Linked DNA regions of Homo sapiens: all the other regions are linked to region 1. The links are contacts of gene promoters, found by promoter capture Hi-C in human tissues and cell types (Jung and others, 2019). All regions are on one chromosome and are shown on one strand. Each heading gives the region's core, a stretch centred on a gene start or on the middle of the fragment in contact. The rest is flanking DNA. Distances are from core to core; before and after follow the strand shown. Region 1 holds the start of CITED2 (Cbp/p300 interacting transactivator with Glu/Asp rich carboxy-terminal domain 2). Region 2 has its middle 570 kb from the start of MIR4465. Region 3 overlaps LOC105378027 (a long non-coding RNA gene). Region 4 holds the start of LOC102723724 (a long non-coding RNA gene). Region 5 overlaps LOC102723724 (a long non-coding RNA gene). Region 6 has its middle 640 kb from the start of MIR4465. Region 7 overlaps LOC105378027 (a long non-coding RNA gene).

Evidence for each region. The method cuts DNA at HindIII sites, captures the fragments that hold promoters and counts their contacts. A contact is called where the count stands out against the background at its distance.
Region 2: a contact is called between a fragment that was not itself captured here and the fragment with the promoter of CITED2 in region 1, in 1 of the 25 tissues and cell types used here (heart left ventricle).
Region 3: a contact is called between a fragment that was not itself captured here and the fragment with the promoter of CITED2 in region 1, in 1 of the 25 tissues and cell types used here (lymphoblastoid cells).
Region 4: a contact is called between a fragment that was not itself captured here and the fragment with the promoter of CITED2 in region 1, in 1 of the 25 tissues and cell types used here (spleen).
Region 5: a fragment that was not itself captured here is called in contact with the fragment with the promoter of CITED2 in region 1 in 1 of the 25 tissues and cell types used here (dorsolateral prefrontal cortex).
Region 6: a fragment that was not itself captured here is called in contact with the fragment with the promoter of CITED2 in region 1 in 1 of the 25 tissues and cell types used here (dorsolateral prefrontal cortex).
Region 7: a contact is called between a fragment that was not itself captured here and the fragment with the promoter of CITED2 in region 1, in 1 of the 25 tissues and cell types used here (dorsolateral prefrontal cortex).

The regions. Positions count from the first base shown.
Region 1 is chr6:139,373,240-139,375,999 of GRCh38, forward strand. CITED2 (Cbp/p300 interacting transactivator with Glu/Asp rich carboxy-terminal domain 2) reads right to left here and starts at 1,409. Exons shown (of 2, transcript NM_006079.5): 1 at 1,174-1,409; 2 at 1-713. The coding sequence starts at 705. RefSeq lists silencers at 118-217, 788-937, 1,398-1,777, 1,948-2,257 and enhancers at 508-567, 1,078-1,247. The HindIII fragment of the contact is 4,975 bases long and covers 1-2,760 here.
Region 2 is chr6:141,256,685-141,259,547 of GRCh38, forward strand. No RefSeq gene overlaps it. Among named protein-coding and RNA genes, the nearest start is that of MIR4465, 570 kb to the left of the region's middle. The HindIII fragment of the contact is 9,295 bases long and covers 1-2,863 here.
Region 3 is chr6:140,733,564-140,736,357 of GRCh38, forward strand. The region is part of intron 4 of LOC105378027 (a long non-coding RNA gene); the gene reads left to right. Among named protein-coding and RNA genes, the nearest start is that of MIR4465, 51 kb to the left of the region's middle. The HindIII fragment of the contact is 6,112 bases long and covers 1-2,794 here.
Region 4 is chr6:140,897,675-140,900,657 of GRCh38, forward strand. It overlaps LOC102723724 (a long non-coding RNA gene), which reads right to left and starts at 750. Exons shown (of 7, transcript XR_428030.5): 1 at 514-750. LOC124901413 (a long non-coding RNA gene) reads left to right here. Exons shown (of 3, transcript XR_007059792.1): 3 at 1-505. The HindIII fragment of the contact is 5,294 bases long and covers 1-2,983 here.
Region 5 is chr6:140,827,473-140,830,298 of GRCh38, forward strand. LOC102723724 (a long non-coding RNA gene) reads right to left here. Exons shown (of 7, transcript XR_428030.5): 3 at 1-2,826. Among named protein-coding and RNA genes, the nearest start is that of MIR4465, 150 kb to the left of the region's middle. The HindIII fragment of the contact is 3,458 bases long and covers 1-2,826 here.
Region 6 is chr6:141,318,666-141,321,576 of GRCh38, forward strand. No RefSeq gene overlaps it. Among named protein-coding and RNA genes, the nearest start is that of MIR4465, 640 kb to the left of the region's middle. The HindIII fragment of the contact is 4,420 bases long and covers 1-2,911 here.
Region 7 is chr6:140,761,647-140,764,346 of GRCh38, forward strand. All of the region lies in intron 5 of LOC105378027 (a long non-coding RNA gene), which reads left to right. It also overlaps the pseudogene RPS3AP24. Among named protein-coding and RNA genes, the nearest start is that of MIR4465, 79 kb to the left of the region's middle. The HindIII fragment of the contact is 5,829 bases long and covers 1-2,700 here.

The sequences.
Region 1 (2,760 bases), core at 159-2,658:
CATTTCTATCACCAAGGACATAAGAACTTCCTCGTCGATGAAATCAGTGTCTATGACATTGGGCGGCAGCATTGCAGCGGGGACGTGGGCCACGGAGGCGGGCATGTTGCCGCTGCCGCTGCCGCCGCCGCTGTTGCTGCTGCCCGCGCCGCCGCCCGAGCTGCTGCCAGAGCCGCCGGGGGTGCTGCTGCCGCCCGAGCCGCCGGGGGTGCTGCTGCCGCCGCTGTGCTTGGGGTTGCAATCTCGGAAGTGCTGGTTTGTCCCGTTCATCTGGTGGCCTGCAGCAGGGTGCAAATCCGGCATGTAGTGGTTGTGGGGGTAGGGGTGATGGTTGAAATACTGGTTGTTGAGCTTCTGCAGCTGCATGCTGGCCGGCAGGGAGCCTCCCTGGCTGGCCACCGGGGGACCCATGAACTGGGAGTTGTTAAACCTGGCCGCGGGGGCCAGCGCGCTCGGGGGGTGCCCTCCGTTCACAGTCCCCGGCCCCATCGCATGCCTGATGCCGCTCGTGGCATTCATGTTGCCCGCGCCGTAGTGTATGTGCTCGCCCATTAGGGCGTTGAAGGCGTGCTGGGGCTGCTGCTGCTGGTGGTGATGGGGGCTCGGGAACTGCCCCATGCCCATGCGGTGGGCAGGGTGATGGTGCAGCCCATTGGTGCCGTCGGGGAAGCGCCCGTGGTTCATGGCCATCATATGGTCTGCCATTTCCAGTCCTGGAAGTGAAAAGGGCAGATAATGAGACCCGCGCCACACGTGTCGCCCACCACAGCGCACCCCACTTTTGCTCGCCTCTGCCCCCCAGGATTCCCGGGCGCACGTCGGCTGCGAACCACCACCCCCAAGATCCCACTAACAGCCTGTGCACCCGGGCTAGCCACCACGGAAGAGCTACCACTCATAACACAGCCGGACGCTGCACAAACAGCCCCTTCCCCTGCGATCGGGCGGGGGGACCCGAGCCCACACCCCCTTTGCTCCCCGAAGTGGCCTAATAAAGGAAGTGCCCCGTAGCCCTGCTGCGAACTTCAGGCATTAAATCAGCCCTCCTCATCCTGTTGTTGCACATCCTGTTGTTATTCCCCAGCTTCGCCTCACGCTCTTCCTCCGGGCAAACCCTGCCCTCGGAGGACTGGGCTGGCAAGAGCCCCAGCCAGCTTCGCCCGTCGCGCTTACCTTCCGTTTTTGCGATTTCTGCTCCGAAGACCGAGGGCGGGCTCGTCGCGTCCAGGACCGGCTCAGCAGCACATAGAGGGGACCTTCCTGGCGTGCAAAGCGCTTCGCTGTCGCGATGTCGGCGCCGAGGTCTCGCAGCGGCCGCTGGGGCAGATTCGGAGCCGTTCCCTTTTATTTCCCCTCCGTTGCCCTCACAGCTCGGCAGGACCGCCCGGCAGCTGCCAACAATGAGCTGTGTTTCTTAGGGCTTTGGCCACAGTTAATATAGGCATTTCGGAAAGGCGGAGCGAGAGCCTCCAGGGCGGGCGGCGCCAAGACGCGGATTCCGGAACACCGCGAACACCCTGGACCGGGTCCCGGAGCCGCGTCCCCGCCGCCCGCGGCACGTGCTGCAGAGGCTGCGGGGCCCGGGGGCCGCCCAGTCGCCCCGTCGCCCCCCGACTCTGGTTTCTTCCCGGCCCAGAAACGCGAGGTTGGCTCAGCCACCCCCGAGGCAGGGGGAAAATCCTCCCCTGCCGCCCCGCCCGAAGGTAGAGCCTGCCGGGATAGCCACGAGGAGAGCTCACCGCCCCCCTCAGGCTGGATCTACCCCACCCCCAGCTTTCTCACTCGGTTCACCTAGCGATCTGCCCCGCTCTCTACGGGAAAAGGGGACTCGCCCAGCGCCCCCCGCCCTCCAGAGTGCCCTTGTGCCTCCCCGGTTTTGCAAAAGCTTCCACAGGCAGCGAAGAATGGCTGTGCTTCCTCGAGTTGGGTTTTAAAGACCCGGACAAATAATGCGCCCTTTCCTGAGCGCGCCTTCCTAGGCTGTGCCTTTGTGTTTTCATACGGGCAGTGGGTAGACCTACTCTAGATCACCGCTTGTAGATGCATTTTTTTCCTCCACTCCTTTCAAGGACAGGAGCTGGGGGCGGGGAGGGGCAGCCGCTGCAGGTGGACGGAGCGCGCTCGAGGGCCCGGCCACCCCCGCTCCCGCGCCCTGGAATTCCAGTCCGCGCTTTCGGGCCCGCCTGCCGCTCCCGGGGTACGTGTGCTTCTGCTAAGTTTGCGTTTGCAGCTCTTGGTAGCTTTGGCATCCGAGCTGAGGCGTCTCTGCTCTGTAAACAAACTCAGCGATCCTCGTCCCCAGATCCACCTTTTTGCACATACACAGTTACTTGCTTCTGCTGTTGCCCTGGATCCGGGAGGTGGGGGTGTGTACAAACTTGCAGAGCCTCCCTCCGGGCTCTGCCTGACGGTTTGGGGTTGATTTAGAAGCAAACGGGTTTGTAATTAAGAAATTTGAGGGCTGAGTAAGGCTGCTCTTGCTGGAAAAGGAAAACAAATAGATAACGTGGTAATCGCTTTGTAAATAAAGTCGTTCTGGAGGTGGGCACGTAGCTGCACGTCCCGTATGGCACCACGCGCACACACACGGCTGGGACTCTTCCTTTTCAGTGAAATTGTTCAGTGGGGCAATGGGCGATAATAATAACCTTGCTTCCACAACGCGGCACAACGAGCCTGGTCGCCCGTTTGGTTCATTGACTTGCAAATAAAACCCCTAACACAGGTCTGGGCTACTACCAAGTCGGAGCTCTCTGGCTT
Region 2 (2,863 bases), core at 312-2,811, 1.9 Mb after region 1:
AAAACCAGAGAAATTAGTGAAAAAAATTTAACAGAGCTTCAGAGACATGTTGGTCACCTTTAAGTGCATTAATATACATATAGTAGGAGAATCAGTGTGGGTAGAGAGAAATAAAGAATCAGAAAAAGAAATTAAAATAAATAATTGCTGGAATGTCTCAAATTTTTTGAAAAATATTAATCTATGCATTTAAAAATCTCAAAGAACTTCAAGTAGACTGAAGACAGTAACTCATAGTAAAGGAACACATGAAGAGAATCAGAAATGATATATAAGAAAATTAAAATAATGAAATCTATAAATATGTATTATACTTACTTATTTCTTCTTTGAATGACAAAATCATGTAAAGTAATAATTATAACTGTATTGTTGAATGCATAATATTCATAGATATAATTTGTAGAACAATAATACCCAAAGTGAATAGAGCTATATGGGGGAAAAATTTACATATTTCACTGAAATTAAGTGAATGTGAATATAAAGATGTAGCTGAAAAGATATAGGGGGCAAGTCCTAGGTCAACCATTAAGGTAAACACTGAAAGAGTAAATAATTAAAATTATTAAAGTGTTACATTATAAAATATTCACTTAAAGCAAAAAAAGATATTAAAGGAGGATAGAGGAACAAAAATGACATGCCACATATAGAGAACAAAAGGTAAAATGGCAGATGTAAATCCAATTATATCCACAGTAATATTAAATTGGAATACATTAAACAATCCAATGAAAAGGCAAATTGCCAGACAGGATTAAAGCAAAACAACACAAAATAAGCATCAATCATATTCTGTCTACAAGGGACATATTTCTGATTCAAAGATGCAATAGTGTGAAAGTGAAAGCTGGAAAAGATATTTCATGCAAACTGCCATCACAAGAAAGATATAGTGGCTCTACTGACATCAGATAAAAAGCCTTAAAAACGAATTTTAAAAAGTTTCTAGAGAGATAAAGAGGAATATTTTATAATAATAAAAACATCTACCACAAGGATATAACAATTGTAAACATATATGCAATTAAAAACAGAGTGCCAAAATACATGAAACAAAAAAAAAGCAGTAAAGACACAGTTTGACAGCAATAATTGGAAAGTTCAATACCTCAATTTCAATAATGGATAAAAAATCTAGTAAAGATTAACAAGAAAATAAATGACTTGAACAACATTATAAACCAGCTGGTCATCTTTAGAACACCATAAATGTCTGTGAAACCTGCCACCTAAGAGCAACAGAACACAAGTTTTTCTACAGTAAAGTTGAAAACTCACAAGGTAGACCATGTGCTTGGCCCAAAATAAACTTCAATAGATTTTAAAAACTACAAATGATGTGAAGTGTCTTCTCTAACCACAGCTGAATAAAATTAGATATCAATTAGAGAAAGAAATTTGGAAAACTCACAAACATGTGAAAATAAAACCACATATTCCTAAATAATCAATGAGTCGAAGATGAAACCAAAAGGAAATTTTGAAATTACTATCAGATTAATGAAAATAAAGGAACAACATGTTCAAACATATAGTATGTAACTAAAGCAGTGATTACAGGGAGATTAATAACTGTATATACCTTTATTTAGAAAGAATAAAGATCTGAAATCAATTTTCCACTTGCATGATGAGGACACTGGGGAAAAAAGAGAAAACTATGTAAAGCAAGCAGAAAGCATAATAGAATAAAAGTTAGAGAGGGAATTAATGAAATAAATAATAGAAAAACAATAGAGAAAATCAATTGCATTGAAAACTGAGTTTTAGAAAAAGATTAACAAATCGACAAACCTTATCCAGGTAGATCAATTAAGAAGAGAAAATTCTCAAGTTACTAGAATTAGAAATGAGGAAGGCAACATTATAACCAACTTCAAGGAAATTAAAAAATGTTGTAAAAGAGTACTATGAATATTTGAATGCCAACTAATTACACAACTTTGTTAAAATGGAAAAATTCCCAGAAAGATGCAAACTACCAAAAATGATTTCAGATTAAAAATACAAGTTGGGCCGGATGCAGTGGCTCACATCTGCAATACCAGCACTTTGGAAGGCCAAGGCGGGCAAATGACCTGAGACCAGGAGTTCAAGACCAGCCTAGCCAACATGGTAAAACCCCGTCTCTACTAAAAATTCAAAAATTAGCCGGGCATGGTGGGACATGTCTGTTGTCCCAGCTACTCTGGAGACTGAAGCAGGAGAATCGCTTGAACCCAGGAAGTGGAGGTTGCAGTGAGCTGAGATAGCACCACTGCACTCCAGCCTGGTTGACAGAGCAAGACTCTGTCTCAAAAACAAAACAAAACAAAATAAAACAAAACAAAAATAATTTGTGTGGGCCTATGACAAATAAATAAGTTGAATTAGTAATCTGAATCTATCCACACAAGAATATGCCAGCCTCAGATGACTTCACTGGTGAATTCTACCAAAAGTTTAAAGAATTAAAAATTCTTTTCAAACTCTTCCAAAATTACAAGAGGGGAGTACCACCTTATTTTGTAAGGCCAGTAATACCCTGACCCCGATACTAAAACCAAACAAAGGCATCGCAAGAAAATTACAGACTGTTAAGTATGAAAACAGATGCAAAAATCCTGGACAGCATACAAGCAAACTGAATCCAACCACATATAAAAAGTGTTATGCAACATTATAAATAAATGAATTTATTCCAGAAATTTAAAGTTGTTTTACTTATTCCAAAGCAAATTAATGTAATGTACAATATCAATGGTATTAAAAAGAAAAACCACATGATCATCTAAATGGATAGACGATAAGCATTTGAAAAAAATCCAAAACCATTTCTTAATAGAAACACTCAACAAACTAAAATCAGAAGGAACGT
Region 3 (2,794 bases), core at 260-2,759, 1.4 Mb after region 1:
TACTAGTATGTGATTTTCTTATTTCAGTCCACATACTGCTTGTCTTAAAAGATAACTCACGATATAATTCCATCAAAGAGGATAGTATAAATTCTCTAAATGTTTGTTTTAGATTTAACCATAGCTTTCTCTTTACATTATCTATCCAGCTCTTTTACTGAGGGATTTTGATCTTCTACTCATTGGAGGAAACTTTTCCATAAAACCAAAAGCATAACTCCTATCTGAAATTGTTTATTTCTTCAAAAACATTTATTGTATACCTAAAGCATTCAATTCATTAATAAGGAATCTAGTGATAGGGTTGTTTAATGGGTGAAAAATGCACTTTCACTTTCAAACCAATTGAATATTGTTGTGGTATGAATGTATCCCCCAAAATTCCTACATTGAAATCCTAATTCCCATGATGGTATTAGAGAGTGGGCTTTGGGGAGGTTATTAGGTCATGGGGACATAGCCTTCATAAATGGGATTAATGTCTTTATAAAAGAAGCCCTAGAGAGACTCCCTGTTCTTTCCACATGTGAGGATATAGATAGAAGGTGCCCTTTATTATCTGAAAAGTGGGCCCATATCAGACACAAAGGCTGTCTTAATCTTGGACTTCCCAACCTTCAGAATATTAAGAAATAAATTTTGTTTGTTTATAAGGCACCCAGTTTACGGTACTTTGTTATGGGAGCCCAGATGGATGGAGACAGACCTATAATACCTAGATCAGTATTTTTTAAAGCATGATGCATGGATGAGCTTCATTTAGGACTACCTACAGGTGTTTGTTAATAGTGATTGCTATGGCCTTACACTGGGCTTAATAAACCAGAATACTTAAATTCAAAACCACTGCTGAGCATGCCACTGCATGTAGAAAGGTGTGAGAGCCACTGAGTTAGAAAGAAAAATGATAGATAGTAGATAATCTATATTTAAGTCATTTTCTAATCACAAGCATTTATAATAGATTTGATAATAGTCTGTAAAGAAACGTCTTAGGAAACTAGTCCTGCTATATTCAGGCACCTCTGCAAATTTTCCACACATCTAATACTTAGTTCCTTGTGCTAATCCTGTTTCATTAAAATATTCTTAAAGAAATTTGTTTGCATATTATTATTGAAATGGTTCCCAAAATATCTCTATTGAATTACTTCCTTTTCAAAGTATTTTAAAAGAGCAATGATGTATTTTTCTCAGCACACTAACCATCAAGACCTGTTTTATATAACCAAGAGTGTTTTAAAGAAATAAATTATGTTTGCCTAGCATCACCCAACTCCATCAGCCAAGACCAGGCACTTAATTTGCAAGTTCTAGTGCAAAATAGATATGTGCAACTACTTGTTCATTATTTATTATTCATTTCAAAGTGATGGTATCAGAGCATTAGCAGAACCACAGGGCCCTGTAAGACTGCACAGGTTTTTAATCCATGAAGTTGTCCTTGCCAATAGAATACTCATGTGACTTCTACTAGTGAATGACCAAAACATGGTTTAGAAAAAAAAAAAAATTCAAGACTTCATTAAAAAAATAAGATATTTGGCCCGGCGCGGTGGCTCACGCCTGTAATCCCAGCACTTTGGGAGGCTGAGGCCGGTGGATCACGAGGTCAAGAGTTTGAGAACCTCCTGGCCAACGTGGTGAAACCCCGTCCCTACTAAAAATACAAAAATTAGCTGGGTGTGGTGGCGGGCGCCTGTAGTCCCAGCTACTCTGGAGGCTGAGGCAGGAGAATGGCTTGAACCCAGGAGGTGGAGGCTGCAATGAGCCGAGATTGTACCACTGCACTCCAGCCTGGTGACAGAGTGAGACTCTGTCTCAAAAAAAAAAAAAGATATTTATATAATATTTATGTTGTTTAACACCTAAAATTTTTAAACAAAAGTAAGTCCTTTTTTTGTTTTGTTTTGTTTTGTTTTTTTGAGACAGAGTCTTGCTCTGTCGGCCCAGGCTGGAGTGCAGTGGCGTGATCTCGGCTCACTGCAACCTCTGCCTCCTGGGTTCAAGCGATTCCCCTGCCTCAGCCTCCTGAGTAGCTGGGACTACAGGCCCGCGCCACCACGCCTGGCTAATTTTTGTATTTTTAGTAGAGACAGGGTTTCACCATGTTGGCCAGGATAGTCTCCATCTCCTGATCTCGTGATCCACCTGCCTCACCCTCACAAAGTGCTGGGATTACAGGCGTGAGCCACCGCGACTGGCCAAAAGTAAATCTTAAGTTATATAATGCTACCTTTAGATTGTATTAATTTTATTTATTTATTTATTTTTCTGGTGAAAAATATGTATATTTAGAATTATCCAGCTAGACTCAGTGTAAATGATCCCAGTTTTATAGGACAATTTCTTGAAGAAAATCACTTATGACAATTGATTACTTTGGTCAATTACTTATTTTAAAATGAATTTTCTATCTTTTAACCCCTTTTTACTCAACTCCAAACTTGTTCTAACCAAATGAATCTAGACTTGTAGAATACTGTTCCCATATAATAAATACTTAATTTGGCAGAAAATAGAGACAGGTGATACCGAGGTAGATCTTTGACTTCCAGGTAATATGGAGCTTAATATCTCAGATCCAATGTTCAATCTCTTAATAAACACAGACCAAAAATGTGTAAAACAGGAATACTAATGCAATACAGCCAAATTAAGTGGTATTTAACACAGTTTCCTCCTATTTTTCTTCTTTTGCCATCATAAACACATTTTTAAAATTCCACTGTTTCTAAATACATACTCCTCTCACATGTTCCACATGGAGACATTTAAATAACTATGTAGTATG
Region 4 (2,983 bases), core at 1-2,500, 1.5 Mb after region 1:
TTTTCACAACCAAAACTTTACAAAGTGTACAAACAGTGATAGTTGGATAGTTGTGGGGGGAGCCTGGTTTAGTAAAAACATCTTCTAAAAGGGGAAAAAATACCTTTAAAGGTTAACTGCTGTTGGGTAGAAAAGGGAAAAGGGGAAGAAAAAAAAAGTTTAAAAATGCCTGGGGAAGAACCTCTTATTCTTATGCAACTGGTTCCTCCACCAGAGGTAAAGCTTAATTACTGTCCGATAAAGCTAAACCCTTTGGCCAGGAAAGGGGAAGGCTGCGGTGGCTTGTGGTTGGGAACCAGCCAGCCAGCTGTGTGGGACCCTTGGGCCATGCGTCCCAGCCCCAGCAGGGCAAGGAACTGCTGCTTAGCAATGGGTCCCAAAAAAGGAAGGAAAAGGCCATGAAAAGGCCCGGGAGCCACGGGGGTGGGGGCATGGTTCCCCCACCCTCAGAAGTCCGAGGATGTAAAGACTTAGAAACAACAGTGACAGATTTTGAGCCCTCATTTTACTCACCACTTTTGGAGCTCCCATGCTGCACACCAAAATGTCACAGGACTTCAGGTAAACATGTGGTTCTTGTCCATCCCATGGCCACAAAAATTTACGCTCACAGATGCTTTAAAGAGTGAGCAAAGCAGGGTTTTACTGGGTGAAAAGGGAATAAAAGGGGGAAACAGGGATCCCAAGGAAGGCCACGATCACCTACTACAAGATTTCCTGCCTGCCATTGGAATCCCAGCTTCCACACAGGAAGAGGAGGGGCCAGGCTCCTCCTCCCTGCAAAGGGCTTGAACTTCCCCAGGCTCCACCCCAGTGGGCAGGCTGGCTGGAGTTTCTGTGAGGTCCCCCCTCCCACTTGGCTGTCTCAGAGTCAGGAGGAGGAGTGGTATGGGCAGAAAAAAATAGGAAGGGAAAATTATAAAAGAATTCCCTAATCTCTAAATGTTAATAAAGTTAGCAAAGTGAAGATTTCAGGTGTTAAACTTGACAGTTTAAGATTAATTTAGTTTTATGTTTAAATCTCTTAGAAATATCTAATAATTTGTCACAGAAAATTTTTCTTACACATTATTTGGTTACCTTCAATAGTTCTAGGTATTCCAGCTCTATCAGGAATTTAGGCTTAAAATGTTTATTCTGACTTCCACCATGAAATCAACATTATTTTCACCTTAGTCTTCCCTGGCATAGTTATTCCATACAGTGAGTCACTTTACATGATTCAATTTGACTGATCTCTATGGTTGTTTTTGTTGTTGTTTTTACTGACCCAAGCTTTACTTTATTTCCACTCCTTCACTCCTAAGTATATCTAGTACTTGAAACTTCATAGACGGTTTCCATTCACACACAAACACCCTCTATACAATGTAAAAACTAGTTAACTGTTTGCAGAGAGATCTTGGAGGCTTACTCATGAATAGTTGTAGATCCTTCTCTAGTATTGTCTTCAGTCATCATCCATTTCTAAGGATTTTTTTCTTCTGAGTTACCAAGAAATTTAAGTTTGGGGATATTGAAATAAATATATTAAACACGCAATTCTACAAATATTATAAACTCTAATTTTGAACACATAATTTCTGTGGAAAATGATTAGTAAGTAGGAACAGAGTTTCTTAACTGACGTGAAATATTTCAGTATAAATGAAAATAGAATAGAAAAGTACCTAGAATAGTCTTTTAAATTTCATTTTAACCCAATTTTCTTGGCTATTCATTTAGTTTATTCAAAGAATCAGAGTGTAAAGAAAAAATTTAACCTTATTAGTTTGTGTTGATACAATTGAAAGTGCTCAAGTATTTACAAAGACCCATTTTCTTTCAGTGAGTTCTGATCCTCTGTCCTGAAACTCCTTCAGAACTCTAGTTAGTGACCACTTACTTTTATTGATTATGTTGATACAGTTATAATATATACATGAAATAGGTGAACTTTGGCATTGCCACTGAGATAATTCTACTAATTTCAGACAAGATTTTAATACCATTATTTTACATTAATATTTTACTTTCAAGATTATATCTGCTGAGAGTGATTATACTATAAGTGAAAGAATAACCATTATTAACAGCACTTTTGAGGTTTGGACTTCATCTTGTGACATCTTCCCTCTTTGTAATTACAGTTTTCTCGTCTAAAATTCTGACTAAAAGTAGTAACCACTAAGATAAAGCAGAATTAACTTCTTCTTGAGCTTCAGATAACTGATTCACTGTAATTTCCAGATTTTAAGAATTGAAGAAGTATCCTGCAGTTCTTGATGACACCTAAGGACACAATCTTGCCTTATTTATTAATCCCAATACCTGACTACTCATAAGGCTTTCCTGGATATAATGTATATATTAATTATGGTAATAACTATATCAGTTCTTTCTATAGGAGTTCAAGAGCCTTGCACATGAAGCTCTTTTCATTCTAGGAGGTTGCTCACTCTCTGTTTTCTTGTGAGATGTAAGATCTGTATTATAAATGTTAGTGGTTGACAAGAATTCAGTATATGTAGTGTCACAATAAAATGGCATAAAAATAAAAGTTAAAGAACCTTGGTTTCTTCTATCATTATTTTTCTATGTTACCTTTAACAAAATTCTCTAGACTTTTTCGAGCTTTGAGATATCTTGCCTTCTTGTCATTGTGGTTAGTGAACGGTCTTCTAGGTTTCTACCTGAGCCTTCTATGGGTCAATCTGGTTACTATGCAGATGTGGTGCTATTTCAGTTATGACACATACAAAATTACTTGAAGAAATTAGAAGACCTAGCTGGAAAAAAAACAGTAATTATTAACTCATGGGTTTCCAGACTTTATGCTACTCATTGCCTGTTTCTTCCAGCAATATTTTCCACATTTAGAAGAGAGAAATATAATTTTTCATTAACACAAGTTCATAGTTGTAACACTCTCCCTGAAACAAAAGAAAGATCAATAAGAGAAAAGCAAGCAGAAGGATATTAATATGCATGCTTCCCATCACAC
Region 5 (2,826 bases), core at 78-2,577, 1.5 Mb after region 1:
AAAATGATCATTATCTTATTTTATAAATGATTAACGCCATAGTAGTTATTTTTAGGAACTATTATGAGAAAACATTCCCAACAAGGAGAATAGAAATAAAATGCAGGTTTCCATCTGCATTTTCAGTTTTTAAAATCTCTTGATACGTTTACAGATTTAAAAAGCATAAAAGTATATGAGGTACAGTTGAGTGGTCAGAAGATCACAGTGATACATAAAATAAATACAAACCTAGTAACTACAAATACAGAAAAGTACAGTTTGGAATTATTCCCTCAAACACTAAAGTGACATTCTTATTGATGATGCAATTTTATTTTGGTGAAATTTCAAACAACAAAGTATGCTCTTTTTTAAATTTACCTTATAGTTGTTTTCTGGAAAATTTAAATTAAAACAGTACAAATTATTTTGTTTATAAGTAAAAGATAATTTGGTTCTTGGTCCAAATAATACAGAGTCTCCTCACTCGACTTTGCATGAATAACTGACAGGAGTTCAAAAGAGGTCAAAAGGTCTTGCAGGGGCTGAAAAGTTTTTCTTCATGTTATATGATGAACTTATGCACTGCAGGACATCTGGTACCCCAGCCATCCCCCAGTGAAATGTGTGCGGTTACTCCCAATACACTTTTACAACCAAAAAATCCATATACATTTCTAAAGCATCACTTGATGTGGCTCCACTCCTCATAATAACATCAGTTATATGGTATGCTATAGATTAGATACAATATGGTATATGAGTAAACATACAGAGGTAGTCACTACCATCTTATTAGGAATAGAACTGAGACCTTAAAGTAGAATCAAAAGAGAGGAAACTTTCAGTATAAGAAAAACTGAATACCCCAGAATGTAGTATGTTCCTGGTATGCAGGCAAGTGAAGCAAAAATGAATCACTTAGTAATAATTTGCAAAAAGCAATTCTTCCAGTGCTTAATTAATTGAATGGCCACATTTCCAAGAACCAAGTATTATAGTAGAATTTTTCCAATTGAGAATTTTTGAGTTATCAATCCACAAATATTTCTATATCAATTTATCTTTTTCTGACATCACCCAGTTGTCATTTTATTGGATAATAAAAATTTCTTGTATATTTTGTATTGTGGGTGTTGTTCGTGTCACAAGATCAAATATTTTATCAATGGTAGGATATCTTTCATATCCACAATGTTTTATCCCCCCTTCTCTTAATGTTTAGATTTAGAAATATCTTTACAAATTTATGATTTGCAAATATGCACACACTTGAGGATTACTGACGTAGTTTAAGAGGAATTCTTGAATTTAGCTGTAAATTGATTATAAGATCACTAACATTTCAACTAAATTTCTCTTCTATTATAATTTCTTCCTTGCAGTGTTCTTGATAATTATTTATGTGCAGTTGTCTTATATCCTCCTTTGGAATGATGATTGAGGAGTGTGGCTATGTCTAATTTATTGAATAATCATATTTCCTAAAATCTGTAGCTCCTTGTCATAGCACTTATGAATGCTCAATGAATAGTCTTGCTTGACTCACTAAACTTGATCGTGAAGCAGATTTGGCAGAGACTATGTCTATGTCTTTCTGTTACGAAAATAACCAGTCAGGTCTGGCAAACTGTGAAGGGAAGAACAAATGAGACTTCAAGTTGAATGATTGTCATCATATATAAAAACTAGCCAGCCGACCGCTCTTTTTCTTTCATTTTCCCACTAGCTGTGTGATTGTCACGTCACCGGACTGCTCAATGAACCGTTTAAATAAATTGACTGGTTAATTTCAGCAGGTATCTGATTGATTCAAATCTTTTTATTTACTTTTTATTCCACAAAACTTAAAGGATGCTGGAACTGATCACGTCATCAGATAAATTTAGCCAGACCTACGTCTAGCCTGGGTCTTTGATGTCAGATCACTGAGAAACAAAAAGGAAAATTAAAGGAACCAGGGGCCCTAAAAGAATCGTCGGTGGTACCTTTCTCTTTTTCTTTCTGCTGATTCCTCCTTCTTTTTCCTATATTCCATTAACACTCTCCTTTTTTTTTCAACTCCTGCTGCTTCAGCATGTTGAAAGATAGTAAGCTATGCATAAAATCAGATGCGCTATTGTGAGCCCCGCCAACGATGCTAGATGAGACACACAGCAAGGCCGGGCGCGGTGGCTCACGCCTGTAATCCCAGCACTTTGGGAGGCCGAGGCGGGCGGATCACGAGGTCAGGAGATCGAGACCATCCTGGCTAACACGGTGACAACCTGTCTCTACTAAAAATACAAAAAATTAGCCAGGCGTGGTGGCGGGCGCCTTTAGTCCCACCTACTCAGGAGGCTGAGGCAGGAGAATGGCGTGAACCCAAGAGGCGGAGCTTGCAGTGAGCCGAGATCGAGCCACTGCACTCCAGTCTGGGTGACAGAGCGAGACTCCGTCTCAAAAAAAAAAGAAAGAAACAAAGAAGAGACACAACACACAGCAAGGGAGAATAATGAAAAGCTTATGTCAGAAGAAAGCTGTGGCATTGTGTGTGTAACTGACCATTTGCCAGCCCATAAAGCACCGCAGAAACACTTAAGTAGTATTCGGTTATTTTATTCCTAAGCATTGTCAAAATCACTTTTTCTCCTAAGAGTCTAGCAACTGAGGAAGTAAACAAGTATTTACTGAACTATTAAGATTATAATGATTCTTCTCCTCAAAAACATTAAAGAAGAAAAAAATGTATTGTGCCGAAACAGAAAGGAGTCCAGGGATGACAATGAAAAAAAGTTGTTTCCCTGTTTGCTTTTTTGTCTGTTTACATGCCCAAATGAAGCAATTTCAATGTCTTTCTTAATG
Region 6 (2,911 bases), core at 84-2,583, 1.9 Mb after region 1:
ACAGAATTTTGCAAACCTAAGGAAAGTTATCAATACTCAAGTATAAGAAGGTTATACATTACCAAATGGATTTAATCCAAAGAAGACTAGCTCAAAACACTTAACAAGCAAACTTCCAAAGATGAAGGATAAAGAAGGAATACTAAAAGCAGCAACAGAAAAGAAACAAATAACATACAAAGAAGCTCCACTATATCTGACAGCAGACTTGTCAGTGAAAACCTTACAGGCCAAGAGAGCATGTCATGACATATTTAAAGTGCTGATGGAGTAAAACTGTTATCCTAGAACAGCATATTTCATTAAAATATACTTCAATATGAAGGAGAAGTAAAGGCTTTCCTAGACAAGTAAACTGAGGGCTAACACCAGATTTGTCCTACAATAAATGCTAAGCAGAGTTCTTCAATCTGAAATAAATGAACATTGACAATCATTTAGAAATCATCTGAAGGTAAAAACAAAAACAAAAAAAACTCACTGGTAATAATAAGCAAGAGACAAACACAGAATATTATAATGCTGTAATTGTGGTGTATAAACTACTCAAGTTTTGAGTAAAAAAGACTAAAAGATGAACCTATCCAAAATAATAACTACAACAACTTTTCAAGACATAGACAATTTGATAAAATATAAATACCAAAGGAAAAGGTTAAAAAGAGTGGGGGATTAAGTTAAAATGTAGACTTTTTATTAGTTTTCTCTTTGCTTTTTTCTCAGCTTGTTTTTGAAATCGGTGTTCAGTTGTCACTAGTTTAAAGTAATGGGTTATAAGATGTTATTTACAGGCCTCATAGTAACCTCAAATTAAAAAAAAACTATAAAAACTACACAAAAAATAAACAGAAAGAAATTAAAACATACCATCAGAGAAAATAATCATCACTAAAAGGACATCAAGAAGGAAGGAGAGAAGGAAGGAAGAGAAAACCACAAATCAACTGGAAAACAAATAACAAAATACCAGTAGTAAATCTTTGCTAATCAATAATAACACTGAATATAAACAGACTAAACTCTTCAATCAAAAGACATGGAGTGGCTGAATTAATGAAAAAGTAAGACCCAATGATCTACTGCCAACAAGAAAAACACTTCACCTACAAATACACACATAGACCAAAAATATATCTACAATGAACTCATTTTTGACAAACGTGCCAAGAACATACATAGGGGTATTGACAGTCTCTTCAATAAATAGTCCTGCAAAAACTGGATATATGTGCAGAAGAATGAAACCAGACCCTGGAATAAAGGCTTAATTCAACATATGACAATATAAATCTACTAAAAGAAAACTTTGGGGAAACTTCCCAGTGCATTGGTCTGGGCAAAGATTTCTTGAGCAATATTCCAAAAGCACAGACAACCAAAGAAAAAATGAACAAATGGGATCACATCAAGTTAAAAAGCTTCTGTCCAGCAAATAATTACAACCATCAAAGTAAAGAGACAACCCACAGAATGGGAGAAAATATTTGCAAACTATCCATCCGACCCAGGAATAATAGCTATAATATTTAAGAAGTTCAAACAACTCAATGGGAAAAATAATAATCTTTTTTTAAAAAATAGGCAAAAGATCTGAATAGACATTCCTCAAAAGAAAATACACAATGGCAAACAGATATATGATAAGGTGCTCAACATCATCAATCATCAGAGAAATACAAATTAAAGCTTCAATAAGATATAATCTAACTCCAGTTAAAATGATTTATTTTTTCTCAAAAGACAGAGCATAACAAATGCTAGAAATGATGTGGAAAAAAGGTAAACTTCATAAATTGCTGGTAGGAATGTAAACTAGTAAAATCACTGTGGAGACCAGTTTCCAGTTCCTCAAAAAAACTGAAAAGAGACCTACCATATGATACAGCAATCCCACTGCTAGATATATATCACATATAGATAGATGATAGACAGATAGATAGATAGATAGGTAGATAGATAGATAGATATCTCATATATATATATCTCTCATATATATATCATATATATCTCTCTCATATATAGTATATATATCTCTCTCATATATATATATCATATATATCTCTCATATATGTATCTCCTATTTCTTTCTTAGATTTGAAGTTTCCAGTCATTATTTCTGCAAATAAGCTTTATGTCTCATTCTCTTTATCTCTCTTCTCTTTCTGAAAATTTTATGGTATATAAATTGGTCTGCTTGATAATGTCTCATAAATCACTTAGACATTCTTCACTCTTTTTCATTCTTTTCTCTTTTGACCAGTTTTTAAAATTCATTTCTTCTTCTGTTTGTTCAAGTTTGCTGTTTAACTCTAGTATTTTTTTCAATCCAGTTATTATATTTTTCAGCACTAAAATTTCTGTTTTTAAAAAATATTTTTTCTACCTCTCCGTTGATATTCTAATTTTTTCCATGCATTTTTTTTCATGAGGTCATTGAGCATCTTGATGACAGTTATATTGAGTGTTTTTTCAAGTGATTTATATACAGCTTTTCTTTAGGGTTGATTTCTGGAAATTTCTTTGATAGGGCGAGGTTTTCCTCTTTCTTCATGTGACTTGTGACTTTTTGTTGGAAGCTGTGCCTTTGAAAACAAACAAACAAATAAACCTCCCTTAATAGTTATGAACTGGCTTTATACAAGGAAAGAACTTTATTGGCTAGCCCATCTAGAGATTCTGGGTGCTTCTCAACCCTTTTCGGTGGATGCATCTTCTCTTGAACTATGCATGCACATATTCAGTTGGAGGAATTTACTGGCTTTATTACTCCAATAGTATTCTGTTTGGTGCTGTCTATAGTATTTCAGGCTTTCTCAAATTGTCACAATCTGCCTACATCTCTTTTGTTCTCAGCAGTCTCCAGGATTCTAGAGTATGCCTGCGATAAGTGCTCTGAGTCAGACAAAGCAGA
Region 7 (2,700 bases), core at 86-2,585, 1.4 Mb after region 1:
AGAAATATTAGAAAAACGCTTGCCACCAGGACTCGAGGAACCTACATTTTATCTAATGATCTCAAGGGTACTATCTTTGAAGTGAGCCTTTCTGATCTGAAGAATGATGTTGTATTTAGAAAGTTCAAGCTAATTACTGAGGATGTTCAGGATAAAAACTGCTTAACGTCCATGGCATGAATCTTACTTGTGACAAAATGTGTTTCACGGTCAAAAAATGGCAGACCATACCTGAAGTTCACGTCAATGTCAAGACTACCAATGGCTATTTGATTTGTCTATTCTGTGTTAGTTTTACAAAAAAAAAAAAAAAATACAACAATCAGATACAGAAGACCTCTTATTCTCAGCACCAACAGGTCTGCCAAATCCAGAAGAAGATGATGAAGCTTCCCACCCAAGAGGTGCAGAGAGATTTCCTGAAAGAAGCAGTTAATAAATGGATCCCACGCAGCTTTGAAAAACTCATTAAAAGGTCATAAAAAGATTTGCCAATTTATTTATACTCTCAATGATGTCTTCACTAGAAAATTCAAAGTTTGAACTGGGAAAACTTGAAGGTAGTAGTTCTTGAAAAGCTTATGGATATGAACTGCCAGTCCAAGAATCTGTTTAAAATTCAGATGTTTAATAGTGACAAACAAAAATCCTGTATGTGAAGAAAAAAAAACATCATGATATTGCTTTCTATATAATTTTTTTCTGTTGTATTGTAAGAAAGATACATCCCTTTTCCTATAGATAAGACTTCTGAGTGTTTTTCTGTTTGGCAATATTAGCAATCTATTTTCTGCCTCAGAAAACCTATTTATAGACCTCCTATTATCAGGCATTGTACTGAATTATTCTTTGTGTCCAAAGTTTTTCAATTTATTTCCTTGGTATTTTAGTGCATATACACATTGTATAAAATAATGGCCTTTTAGTCTTCTTCCACTGTAGCTCTCTTATTTCTGTTTTATTCTAAATTCATGAAACATAACTTTCAAAAGGAATCTTACAAATAGTGATAATAACAGACATCTTCCTCAAGTTGATAATTTTAATACATATTGATATTCCATCATTCATTATAATGTATTTTGTTTAAAGTGTATTTACTTTGAAAATAAAACATCTTTTGTTAATTTTCCTTATAACATTTTTGAATACCAATTTGTGTTCTAGCATATCCAATCAAGTTGGTCACACTGTATGAGAATGAAATGTATTTATTTAACTTACTTATATTATAAATTGTTTAAGTAGTCTGCTTATATTGATTGTCTTTATACTTCTTTTTGAAAATTAGTATACTGATCATTGTTAACTCATGCTTCTATTTCCATGCTAATTATTTATAGGATTCATATCTATTTTTTCATATTATGATTTATGTAGCTTCTTATCTCTTATGACCTGAACAGTTTATAAAATGCCAATTAATTCATTTCTGTGAGAAAATAAAATAATTCCGTAAAAATTAATAAACATTTTTATAAGTTTCTCAATGTTATTGTCAGTTATTGATTCACTGACTTCTCTGTGTAGTATATAAAATCACATATTTATTTAGAAAATCATCCATTTCATTGATGTTTTCAACTTTAGCAAATTAATCATGAAAGCAATTTTGCGCAATGTATTATATTTATGATTGTTTTTATTTTCTTTATTTACATTAATAGGTTTCCCTAGTTTGTTTATTTTGTTAATTTTTTTACAGGGGTAAACCTTGGATGTGCGAATGCTGTTACTTTTATTAGAGTGTTATAATGGAAATAAAGTAGTTACATAATGAATATAATGCCACAAAGAAGGCATAACTTAGAATTTGCACTCTTGACTCACTGCTGTTTTATTTGAAGTATTAGTTTTCTGTTGCTACTGGAACAAGTTACTACAAAGTTAGTGCCTTATTATTCTACAAGTCTCTAGATCAGGAGTTTGACATAGGTTTCACTGGGCTAAAACTAAGGTGTCAGCAACGTTCCACTTCCTTCTGGAGTTTCCAGGGGACACTCTGTGTCCTTGCCTTTTCCAGGTTCTAGAAGCTTCCCATATTCCTTGACCTACATCCCCCTTTAAGGTCAGCAATGATGAGTCAAGTTCATCTCACCTGGCATCAATATGACTGTCTTCTCCTGCCCCATCTTCCACTTCTAAAGGACTCATAGTGATCAGATTGGGTCCACCAGATACTCCAGGTTAGTTAAGGTCATTACCCTAATCACGTCAGCAAAGTCTCTTTGCCACGACATAACATTTAGCAGGATTCAGGTGGGAGGATTAGGATTGGACAACTTTGGTGGGCTATTATTTTGCTTCCCACATCTGTTTTCCTTGTCAGTCATGTTTTCAGATTCAAATCAAGTTGCACATCTTTCGTAAAAGAAATTAATGTACACGAATCGGATTCTTATCCATGATTGACTTTCTTTCCTCTTTGTCAAATTTATCTTTTAATTGGTTTCTAAGCATATTCCGAAAAGTTGTTTAGCTTTCCATGGTTGGCCAGGGATCTATCTACATAAATTATTGCATTTGGACACAATTTGCATTAATTTATGAATATTCCCTAAGTTAATAAACAGATTGTGTTGACAGAATTTGTTTGCCTGAGTTGGTCATCAGTTTAATCAAACTAATTACCCTATTATTTCAGTAAATAGCCATATTTGGAAAACATTTTTTACTGCCACCTAAGTTAAAGGAAAAAAT